2 separate regions of the Homo sapiens genome follow, and region 1 is linked to region 2. The links are contacts of gene promoters, found by promoter capture Hi-C in human tissues and cell types (Jung and others, 2019). All regions are on one chromosome and are shown on one strand. Each heading gives the region's core, a stretch centred on a gene start or on the middle of the fragment in contact. The rest is flanking DNA. Distances are from core to core; before and after follow the strand shown.

Region 1 (5,918 bases), core at 248-2,747, 150 kb after region 2:
GAGTCTGTCTTGAAAAAAAAAGAAAGAAAGAAAAAAGAAACTATTTTTATTATGACATTTATTTGTATTACAAGGAACCAATGTTCTAAGGGACAATCTCTGATAAATGCTGCTGTGTGGCAAATAAATGCTGCAGTTCTGAAGGTAGAAAGTTGAGCAGTAACTGTAACCCGTTTTAAGTGTACCCAAGGAAATGAATAAGAGACACATCTCAAAGGTTCTTTTTGTTTCTTTATAGAATGAATATTAAGTACTTTTCATGAGTTTACCCAAGAGTAATAATAATTCTAGATTTTAGCCCTGTGAGGCCAATTAAAGATAATTTTGATTATTAATGTTTCCTTCTCATTTTTTTTTTAAATAACAAAGCATCATAAAGAAATCCCAGTCAAAAAAAAATGCTGCTGCCTGGAAAACATAGTGAAACCCTGTCTCCATCAAAAAATATTTTAAAATTAGCTAGGTGTGGGGGCATGTGCCTGTAGTCTCAGCTACTCAGGAGGCTGAGGTGGCAGGATCACTTGAGCCCAGGAGGCAGAGGTTGCAGTGAGCTGAGATGGTGCCACTGCATTCTAGCCTGAACAAGAGTGAGACCCTGTCTCAAAACAAAAACGAAAAAAAAAAAAACAAAAAACCATGCTTATACAGAAATGGGAAAATGCTACAAAGATATTGCCATAGTACTGAAAGCACACAGCATAACAATCATTAATGCTTTGAAGCATTTTAAAAACAGTAAGGGGAATGTCAACATAAAAAAGAACAACTACGAAAAGGTGAGAAATGATCAAGTTATCTCTGGTCTCTTAAAAGAAGGAGTTCTCAGAACTGGTCTGAAGGGGGTCTTCTCCAAATGACAGAGTTGATTAGCTCCATTCTCTTCAGCCCCCTGACATGATGGCATCTAGTGTGAATATGGGAGCTCACCAGGTTCTCCCAAGGACAGGGTGGCCCTGCAACAGCTACGCCTGTCCTAGAGACCATACCCACGCAATCTCCTTCATTCCCTCTAGGCCAGCTTCATCAGAAATCATGTTTTTAATGGCACAGTTATATGTCAAAAAGGAGGAGAAAAGGAGCCCCTAGTCCACCAAAACAAGTGTAAAAAGGTCGCAGGAGGGGAGGAGGATTGACACTGATGTTCTTAATATCTGAGTTGGCTGAAATTTGTAATAAGTTTTTCATGAGAAACCATATTATAATGGATGAAGAGCTTTTCTAATTCAGCTCTATCATTAATAAATAATTATAAAGACATTACTATGAAAATATACAATCATTTATAACATTATTTTCCTAAAAAATAAAAAAGCATTTTGTATTCTAAATACTGTACACTAAGTATAATAATTAACATATTGGAAAATGACAGACAAGCTGCAGCGGTTTCCTAAAGCCTTAGGATTCCCTCTAAGGTTTATTCATGGGCCCTCTAAGATGATAGCATGGCCTTTTTTTGGTTCAATATTTTCACAACTTGTTCTGCCTATTTTAATTCTTATAACAATTCCTAATTTAAACATTGTTAATCAGCAAATGTCCTAAGTCTTGATTCAGAAATCTATGGCATAGGTAGAATGAAAAAATAAATACCTTAAATAGAAATACTTTTTCCCTAACTCGTTTCTTTTTTCTGTTTTGCAACATAAAAATATACATTTCAAAACATTTAAAGATATCTGGGAAACTGCAACAGAAAAGGCTTGTTCCCATGTGAGTCTGAAGGGGCCAGTTACGGTGCAGCAAGGCGAGCCTGTGGCTGCAGGCACACAACACAAACTCCACAAACTCTATGATACTGTCAGAAGGAAGTTCAACCTATTCTACAGACTCACACTGACCTGAAAGGACAAAATTAAGAAAAAGATATGCCTCAAAGAGCAAAATAAAGAAAGATAAAAAAACTGAGCACCCTTTACAATGTTGTAATAAAATATTTATTAATTTCTCTTTATAAAAATTTGGGAAAAGATAAAAGGCAAAACTACACATAGAAAAAGGTCAGTGATAAGTGTTTATACAGTCAGTTTTTTCTGATGTGTGAAAAAAACTGATAAAAAAATCCTTTGAGGTAATATGAAAGTTCATGATTCTCATTCCATCAACATCACTGTTTGCTACCATAGCTTCTTAGTTGTCCAGCTAGATTTTATGCTATGAACTGATGCATGAGATTTCATAAAACATTAATACCTCTTTTTTATACTACAGTTCTTTCACTGGTATACCATAAAGTAGTATTACAAATAAATTATGACTATACTTCATCATAAATAGAAATTAAGAAAGTACACTTTGCCAAACTGATTTCTGACTTTTAAATTGTATTTATTCACTCCCCACCAATTTGAAAAATCTTGTAAATTACAGAGGGTTTCCTAGTCATTAACATGAATTAGTAATGCTATAACTTAATTCAAAAGCAATTACTTCTTAAAAATAGGGCGCATACCAGGAAAGCTTAGCATCAGCCAAAGCTACTAGCACACCACGGGCAAAAGGCCAACTCTGCAGGGATATGTAAAGGTCATTTTATGGATAATCCATATAAAAACTGCTCTCAAGATATTTTGCCCATTAGAATTTGTTTACAAATGGAAATCTAATTTGATGATTTTAGGCCTTTGTGCTAGAATCTCACAACCAGAAAGAATAACACCTTTAATATGAATTCTTATGATATTGTCAGAAAGTTTAACAGGAGTTATTTTAACTCCTGTTAAAATAATAGATGACAGTAAAAAGAAATTCAAAGGGAAAGAAACAATATACGAAAAAGCTATGGGGTAACAGATGTTGAGCCTACAATTAAAAACTATTTATTTTAAATGTTTTCCTATGTATAAGACAGAAATACCAAGCACTTTCTACTTTTGTGTTGTCAGAAATCCCAGGAAAATCCAGAAATGAAAAAAAAAAAGTGAAGGATAGACATGCATCACATGCATCTAGCTGGTTGACTGAGAAAACCTGAGAAATAGCACTAAAAAGGATAAGATAGCATTATTGCATACTAAAGAAATATGACAAATACCTGCAAACACTTTTTTTATTGAAGCTCTTGAAATAATACACCCTGACTGTCTAACAAAACCAGTGCTGAAAGCTGATAAATATTGACGGTGGCACCTGGTGATTTCCTTCCAGCTCAGCCACAGCAATGACTCTGGATGCCATCAGCACTGCCCCCACAGGCATATGCTCTCCTCTGGGTATGTGGGAAGTTGTGCGACTGGGGACCAGATTGCTGCAGGTGCTCTCAACATCACTGGGAAGAGCTGCCAGCCAAAGGAAAAAAATGAAAAAGGAGAATGCCTTCCTATGCTTTTCCACAGATATAATCACTATTTCATGCCTGCAAAACCTAGAAAAAAAAAGAAGCTCCTTTGTTCCAGATAACCTGTCAATTCGGAATTCCAAATACCATTTTCCTTACAGGAGTAGAATATACTATATATCCATATCCATCTTCTTATTGAAGCCTTGATGAGATTTTAGCTTAAAAGGAGAATCAGGATCCAGATGCTGAATGGTGCTTCAGCAACCTCACATGAAGTGACTTTTGGGTTTGCCACATAGTCTGAGTTTCTTCGTTGTGAGCAGCTGGGCCAGGCCATTGAGGAACACCAAAAAGATGGTCATGGACATGACAATCACATAGTGGCTGATGCTGCAAAAGGAGAAAAAGATGTTACAGGCAGAGAGAACACAGGTGAGGAAAATCATGAGATTCCTCTGAATGGTTTTAAATGGACAGATGAAAATCTCCACTTTCAGGAGCTGGAGTGGGTGTTCTTTACCTTATTCCTCCTGCTAAGTACAGCTGTCTGTTGGTATCTGGTTCCAGGACCTTCAAGTACAGCTGTCCATGGACTGGTTCCAGGACCTTCCACGAATACCCAAATCTTTGAATGCTCAAGTCCCTGATATAAAATGGTGCCGTATTTGCATATAAGCTATGTATATCCTCCTGTATACTTCAGACCAGGGGTCCCCAAACCTCAGGCAGTGGACTGGTACCAGTCTGTGGCCTGTTAGGAACTGGCTGCAAAGCAGGAGGTGAGTGGTGGACCAGTGACCATTACTGCCCGAGCTCCGCCTCCTGTCAGATCAGCGGCAGCATTAGATTCTCAGAGGAGCACGAACCCTGTCGTGAACTGTGCTTGCAAGGGATCTAGGTTGTGCACTTCTTATGAGAATCTAACGAATGCCTGATGATCTGAGGTGGAACAGTTTCATCCCGAAACCATCCCTCACCCCCACATACACAGCGGCGTGTGGAAAAATTGTCTTCCATGAAACTACTCCCTTATGCCAAAAAGGTTGGGGACTGCTTCTTTAGATCATCTCTAGATTATTTACAATACCTAATAAAATGTAAATGCCATGTAAATAATTGTTACACTATATTGTTTAGGGAATAATAGAAAGAATAGAAAGTCTGTACATGTTCAGTACAGATGCAATTAAAAAAATATTTTCAACCTATAGCTGGCTGAATCCATGATGTGGAACCCAAGGATACAGAGGGCTGACTATACAACTAAAAATGTTGGACACTATAAACAAACGTAAGACGACTCCAGGTGGTGGAAAGAGGGCAAACTGGTCAGTGATCTTGGGACCCAAAGAATTTCCTGAATTTTCTTTTGCAGGAAGACAGCAGCAACCTGGAAATGCCACTGGGCACAGACCAAAAAGAAATCCCCAAAAAACAATAATACCACCACCACAAGAGCCTATGCTCGCAGCTAAGGGACAGACAAGGAAAGGGGCAGCCAGAAAGACAGAAAATGTTTAGATATTAACTGATCTACTTCAGCCAAACACCACAGAAAAAATGTGGCTCCACCCCTACCTATTCCAGCATAGGCTGAGTGGGGAGCCCAGACTTCCATCCTCACCAGGCTATAATGGGGCACTCTAACTCCCCGGCTATGCCCTCCCCTCCACTGTCATGGTGTCAGGGAAGGCTGAGGAGGGAAGCTGGTACTTCTGTCCATACCTGGAGGATGTCAGTGGACATCACGTGGGGAGCCTAGACTTCCACCTCCATGAAGCAGTAATGAGGTCCCTCCCCCTCTTCAATGGGGTCATGTCAGAGGAGGCCTAGTGGAGAGCCAGGAATTCCACCTCCACTCAGAGGTAGAAAGGCCATTCCTTTCCTGACCATGTTATTAGTGGAGGTTGCATGGGAGGCAAAGGGGACCTCTGTCTTTCCCAGTCATGAAGGCAGTAGTGGAGGCCTTGCAGGGTGCCGTAACGCTGGTCCCTGGCAGGCAGCAGTAAGGAGCTCCCTCTCGGGTGCCAATGGAGGCTGCAAGGGGAACCTGGATTTCTAACCTCATCAGGCAGAAATGAGGTAGTGTCCCCTCTTCCCCTGCCATAGGAATGTCAGAAGCCAGTTAAAACAGGTTTAAATAAGACTGAGAATCTCATAACCAAATACCCAAAATGTCTAGGTTTCAAAAGAAAATCACTCACCACATCAAGAACCAGGAAGATCTCAAGCAGAATGAAAAAAGACAATTAACTGATATCAAAACCTAAATAACAGAGCTGTTAGAATTATCTGGCAAAAATTTTAAAGTGGTCATTATAAAAATACTTTAATGAGCAATTATGTACATACTAGAAACAAACACACAAAAAAACAGAAAATCTGAGCTAAGAAATAGGAATTCTCAGCAAAGAAGATGTAAATAAGAAGCAAATAAAGAAGTCTAGAACTAAAAAATGCAATAACCAAAATAAAAATTTCCATGGAAGTGCTCAATAGCAGAACTGAGGGGGCACAGGAAAGGATCCATGAACCTGAGGATAAAACAACAGAATTTACCCAGCCTGAAAAACAAAAATAGATGTTAAAAAAAAATGAACAGAGTCTCAGGGACCTGTGGACTGTGACAAAAGATCTA
Region 2 (5,940 bases), core at 3,165-5,664:
TTAAGGCAGACAAGGCTGAGCTATGATGTCAGTAGGTGTATTAAATGCATTTTCCACTTACAATATTTTTAACTTATGAGGGGTTTATGAGGATATAACCCCACTGTAAATTAAGAAGCATCTCTACCAACTTTATCCCAATTGTGATTTCAATCATGGAGTCAGACTGCTGGATCACACAGTGTAACTCTCGAAGCCATGGGAAAAGAAGCAGGAAAACCAACACCTTCTTCCTTTCCGGTTTCCATGACGTCACAATGGGCAGTGCCAGAAACCACTTTCATGCCACAAGAGTCCTCTACCTGACCAGCCGACTTGGGTATGAAATTAAAGTGGTAGGGACCCAGAGGCCAGAGAAAATATAGAAATGCATTTTGGGGCTTCCCAAATATAGTTCAAGACTAGTCCCTCGGGGCTTTCATTTTCCTTCTCCCTCAGTCTGTGCCTGGCCCTCAGCCCAACCCCAGGCACCCTGAATGGGTTTTTGGATGGTCTATATCTGGTTCTTCCTGCTGGTCTCCAAGCTGCTCATCTCCCAATTCAGAAACGCTTTGGGTGCTACATCTTATCACTTGAATGAAGCCGGGTGGTCTCAACCTCCCTAGGTTGATACTGATATCCCCTCAGTCACTGTGACTTGGAGACTAACATAGTTTACCACACCACTTCCTTATTTGGAGAGCTATCTTTATAAAAATGACTTTGCCAAGGTGATTACTGAACCAAAAGCAATATTATTTTGTTAAATTCTACACTTATGCTTAAGGTATTTATCAAATCTTTAAAATGGCTCACCCGTGCATGCCGTTATCACAATGTGAACAAAGATATATGAGTGAACAGCTCTTCCCAAAGCAAAATCTCTGCAAGCCACCAACTGCTGAATCCAGAGCACCTTGCAATGCCTATTCCATAGCATCCAACTCTTTTTAGGGAGAGTGAGGCAAGGAAGGCTTTAGAACTCACCACCCTCCTAGTCAATACAGTTGCTGATGGAAGCACAAATGTCCCTAAACTCTCTGGGTGTTCTACTAGTCCTGTGACCAGAAAAAGCCTCTTGCCCAAATTGCTTTTTCTAAACATCAAAGTAACAAAAGGGTGACCCAAGGTTACCCTAAACACATTCCTGCCCCCTTCAGATCTTATCTGTTGCCCTGTGGTCTCTGCTGCAGGAGGCCACCTCCTGGGTGGCCCTAGGCCCATTGCCACTCTTTTTCTACCCTGGGCGGTTCCAAACAAACTCAGGAAGCCTTAAACAAGAGGCAGATGGTGAGGAAGAGAAAGTCTGTAAGTAACACCTCTCTATTACATAATGCTAAGCTCACAACCTCCTAGAATCAGCCTTGAAAATACCTAATGGCCTTTCACTTCAGAGTAAACATGCACTTGAAATAGGCAAAGAGAGGATTATAATTATTTTATTTGATGACCAGTGTACAACCATGTTAGTAAATACCATATCAACATATTAGTAGTACATTACAGGTGGGGGTAGGACCATATATTAGTAAATTACAGGTTGGAATAGTAAATATACAGGTTGTAAATTACAGGTTGTTGATTCAATCAATACTCTTGTGACATCCAATACCCACCAAGCACTGAGCTAGGTCCCATAGGACACACTTTCTAACCTCACCTAGACCAGATCCCTGTGGAAGTCACTAGTGCTACTCACCCATATCCACTTCTCCCTTTTTCAGCACAAGAAATATTGAATTGTGATTAAATAGGGTCATATGCCCAGTTCTGGCCAAAGTGATGGAACTCACCTCTGGGTAGGATCACATAATTGCTAGAGCAAGACCCTGCAGCATTTCCTTCCCGATGCTGCAATGATCTTGCAAGCTCACATCAAGACCAAGACTCCATCAGTTTGAGTCCTTGAGTGACTACGATGAGCAGGGTCCACCTGCCAACCACACTGGATGCAGCATGGGAAGGAAAGAAACTGTATTTAGCTATGGAGACTTGGAGGTATTTGTTACTGCAGCATAACCTCACCTATCTTGCTGGTACGTCACTGTTTAAAAAAGAGAAAAATCTGCAAAAGCATCCCATCAATCTGTTTTCTAAATCAGATAATATGGAAAAGCAACATTTGTTTCAAAATTCAACTTCATCAGGAACTGAACACTACCTTGAAAAGCAGAGGGTGCTGACAGCATAGGTGGGTTCAAACAACTCTGAGGGAATTAGAAATGAAAACAGAATGACCCTCAACAATGTAAGGACCGAACTGTATGGAATTCAGCTAAAAAGACTACAATGAAAATGCCACCTTCTGACAACAGCAACAGCCATTTATGAAGCAGTGAGCTCCTCAATGAAAGAGGCATTAAAGTTGAGGCTGGATGACCATATTTTCTCTCCCCAGAAGTCCAATCCTACCTCTCTTGAGCTTCCATTGAAGTTAATTAGAATCAGGTCTTCCTATAGGGAGTTCAATTTTGTGTCTCCCCCTACACCCAACCCCAACCCCTTGAGTCCATTATCTATCACAGAGTCCATTATCTATCAGGTGCCAATAAACATCTGCTAAATGAATAAATGAGCATTGTAGAAAGGAAGCAGGCATTGGAGGCAGAGATCAGCCTAATAGCCTCTAGGGATCCTCCAGCCTAAAGCTAAACACATCTGAGGGTGGGGAGCCTCCTTCTTATATAAAAAAAATTAAGCATCAATGGACACTTTATTATGATTTATTACTGTACACAATTTAAAACCACAATGAAACCTAACACTGCACTGTGGCTATCTTTGTTCTTGGACGTGCATTTACATGGGCAGGCTACTGTTTTGCCATGTGGAATTTTGTGTGCGAAGTGTTTATTCTTTCTATTAAAAAAAAAACCACACCCTTGTTTCTATTGCATTATTACATTCCCTATTATCCCATCACATGTTTTTTCTTCTTGCAGCAACACAGTACACACCCTGTACTATTGCTGACATAAAAATTACTTGTCAAAAATACCTCTATCTTAGCACCACATTACTCATCTGATCTTTGCAAAGCACTGGCCTTTGTTTCACCTGGGACTAGATAACTCAACTGCTTTTACTAGTGACTCCTGAATGCTTGTAGTAGAAGGATAAATGCTAGTGTCACCTATGTTTTTAAAGTCACCTTCCAAAACAAAACTACATTGGAGGTGAATAATAAATCTTTCAAGTTTTTAACTTCATTTTTCAAGGGATTTGGAGGAAAATGGTGAAGAGAGAATCTGTCACAGATACCAAGGTGTTACTGCAATGTAAAAGAGAGTAGACCAGGAGCCTTTGGCCCTCAGCAATCTGTCTTCCTACAAGAAAAATCGAAAGCCCATTTCCATAACCATTCTTATTCCCTGCTACTAGTGTAGGATGCGCAGGACTCTGCCCTCTAGCAGAAAATGCTAATGCCGGAGTGTCCTGCTAAGTCTGAAGGTTACGTTTTTTCATTGCACTCTTATCAAGATAACCCCAGATCTGGCTAGGCTGACATCAAAACAGAACTATCCTTGGAAAGAAAAGAACAGGCCAGAGTTTTTGGAAAAGCCCCAATAACCTAAAGATAAAATCCAGAATGAGAGTCTACTGGTTCATGGCTATCTAAATGGAAACTTCACTCAAGCTGTTTTCTCTGTTCTCTTTCTGCTGCCCCCAACAGCCCTCCCTTCCACCTCCCAGTACTCACTGCTAGCATGTCTCTCTTAATATTGCAAACACTATTACAATGAAGGAACAGAAGAAAGACAGTATTTCATACGAAGGTCACTGCATTTGACCGGTGCTCAATTAGAGCACTGGGCAAAAGTACAATCAGCCTTCCAATGATACCTTTTCAACAAAGGATACCCCACCTCTAGACTGAAGCCTAAATCTATTACTACAGATAAGAAAGCAGGCATCTATGGAAACCTAACATTCAGATACAACTGCCTGTGTATGAATTATATCAAAATTCCCATGAAAGGAAACCAGGTGGGATTTCTACAATCCCAAATTCACCCTGCACCTACCTCCAATGGCTTCTTCAAAGGGAAGGTATAAAGTCATTTGCAATTTATTTCTTTGAACCAGGAGTTTTAGCAGCCCCCACACCTTCTCACAGATAGGAACGATGTTGATGCAGAAACCACCCAAACAGCCCTGTGCCAGCACTGTCGGCCCAAATGACCCAGAGACACCCAGGCGCTACCCAGATCGTGGGGGGTTACCTGTATCTGTCACCGAGTCTCTTTCACCCCTTCTGCGTGATGACATCAAGTGGAAATGGTACACGTTTAGGAGGCAAGAGGCTGACAGGCAGGAAACACAATTGAGACTGAGCTTTCTTCAGCCTGCAGTGAAATACATGCAGGAAGGGTTAGATACGCGCCGCGGAGAAGGAAATCCAAGCGCCCTCCTGGGCAGACGGGGCTGGAGCGGGTGCACTAGGGAGGTGGAGCAAGGCAGATGAGGTGTGGAGGGCTGGCGGCCGAGAAGGGGGCGTCACGGCTCCTAATTGTCTCTACAGGATAAATAACCACCTCCCCCCTCCTCCGCAGTCTCCCCCGCCCACGAGTTCCCCTCTGGTGGCAGAGCGCCTACTAGCAACAGTAAGCCCTAGGAAAGAAAGAAATCGGAGCAGGTGGGGAATAACATCTTGGGGCAAAGACACACTGGCAAAATCTACCAGGTAACCCGGTCATATGGGAATGCGGGGCGCCTAGTCAGCCGCGCAGACAGGCACACAGCGCGGCAATCCCGAGCATCTTTCTTTCGTTTGCCCCTGTCCGCCACCTCATCAAGTCACCGCCACCTCATCAAGTCACCGTCACCTCATCAAGTCACCGTCACTCTGCTTTGGCGATTTCTCTACTCTCTCCAGACCCAGGCAGCGCTCCCCAAGCCATGCCCCGACCCCAGGCGGGATTGGGGACCGCCGCTTCCCGAGCAGCGCCCCACGAGTCCAGCTGGCTTTGTCCTGCCGCTGTCCTTCCAGGAGCAAGCGCCCCAGGCGCGTGTGTCTGCACAAAAGACCCCCAACATCTGGCCCTTCACAGCGCTCTCTAATCCCGGGAGGGGCCCTGGGGCAACTTCTAGGGCTGGAGAAGGCGCGAGACAAGGGGACCGGGAGAAGATGAGCCGGGGTGTGTGCGGGCCGGGGGCGCAACTGGGGCGGGCGCGCGCGCACGTGCACACCCAGGGGCGCGCGCGGCGCGGGCACGAGGAAAGCTCCCTCGGACCGGAGCTCCAGGGGGCATCCGAGGACTCGGCCGAGCAGCCGACAGCGCCGCTCCCCGCCGCGGCCGCCCGCCCAACTCCGCCAGCTCTCAGGAGACACGCAACTCCCGGGACCACCTCCCCCGTGCCCCGCCAGACCCCGCGCTCCCCTCCCCGGGACCCTGCGGCCCCGCCACCCCCTCCGCGGTCCAGAAGATCTCCCCAGTTACAGCAGGCGGCAGCTGCCCTTTCCCGCTTCCACGGCTTCGGCGCGGCCGCCGTAGGGGCGCAGACATCCCTGCGCACCCCTCTGTCCGCCCCCGATCCGGAGCCGGCAGAGCAGAGAAACAAACCGAAACTCACTGACCTTTCTCCGCGGCGGGCTCGGGTGCTCGCTACAGAGGCGGCGGCGGCGGCGACAGCATCGCCGGGTGGTCCCGGCGCGCCCGCTCCTTTCAGCCAGACTCGCGCCCCGGGCCGGCGGCCGCCGCTCCTCCGGCCGAGAGCCACGGGGCGGACGCTGACAGCGCGGCGGCGGCGCCTGCAGCCCCAGCACCCGGCCCGGCCCTTCGGGCGGCACCCCCACCTGCCCGGCCGCCCTCCGCGTTCGCGGTCGGACACCGCCGCCAGGCGCTCGGCACCGAGCGAGAGCTTTTTGTGTCACTGAGACTCCGGCACCAAAGGGGGTGGGGGGAGAGGCTGGGCTCCGCTCCCCGCGGCACCGCCCTCCCCGGCGGCTCCACCCCCTCC

What was found. Contacts are between HindIII fragments. The study calls those that stand out against the background at their distance.
Region 1: a contact is called between a fragment that was not itself captured here and the fragment with the promoter of RNF152 in region 2, in 2 of the 25 tissues and cell types used here (aorta and liver).

Annotation. Positions count from the first base shown.
Region 1 is chr18:62,042,310-62,048,227 of GRCh38, forward strand. PIGN (phosphatidylinositol glycan anchor biosynthesis class N) reads right to left here. Exons shown (of 31, transcript NM_176787.5): 31 at 1-3,670. The coding sequence ends at 3,547. Among named protein-coding and RNA genes, the nearest start is that of PIGN, 140 kb to the right of the region's middle. The HindIII fragment of the contact is 8,228 bases long and covers 1-5,611 here.
Region 2 is chr18:61,888,593-61,894,532 of GRCh38, forward strand. RNF152 (ring finger protein 152) reads right to left here and starts at 4,415. Exons shown (of 2, transcript NM_173557.3): 1 at 4,203-4,415. RefSeq lists silencers at 5,601-5,750, 5,821-5,940. The HindIII fragment of the contact is 14,100 bases long and covers 1-5,940 here.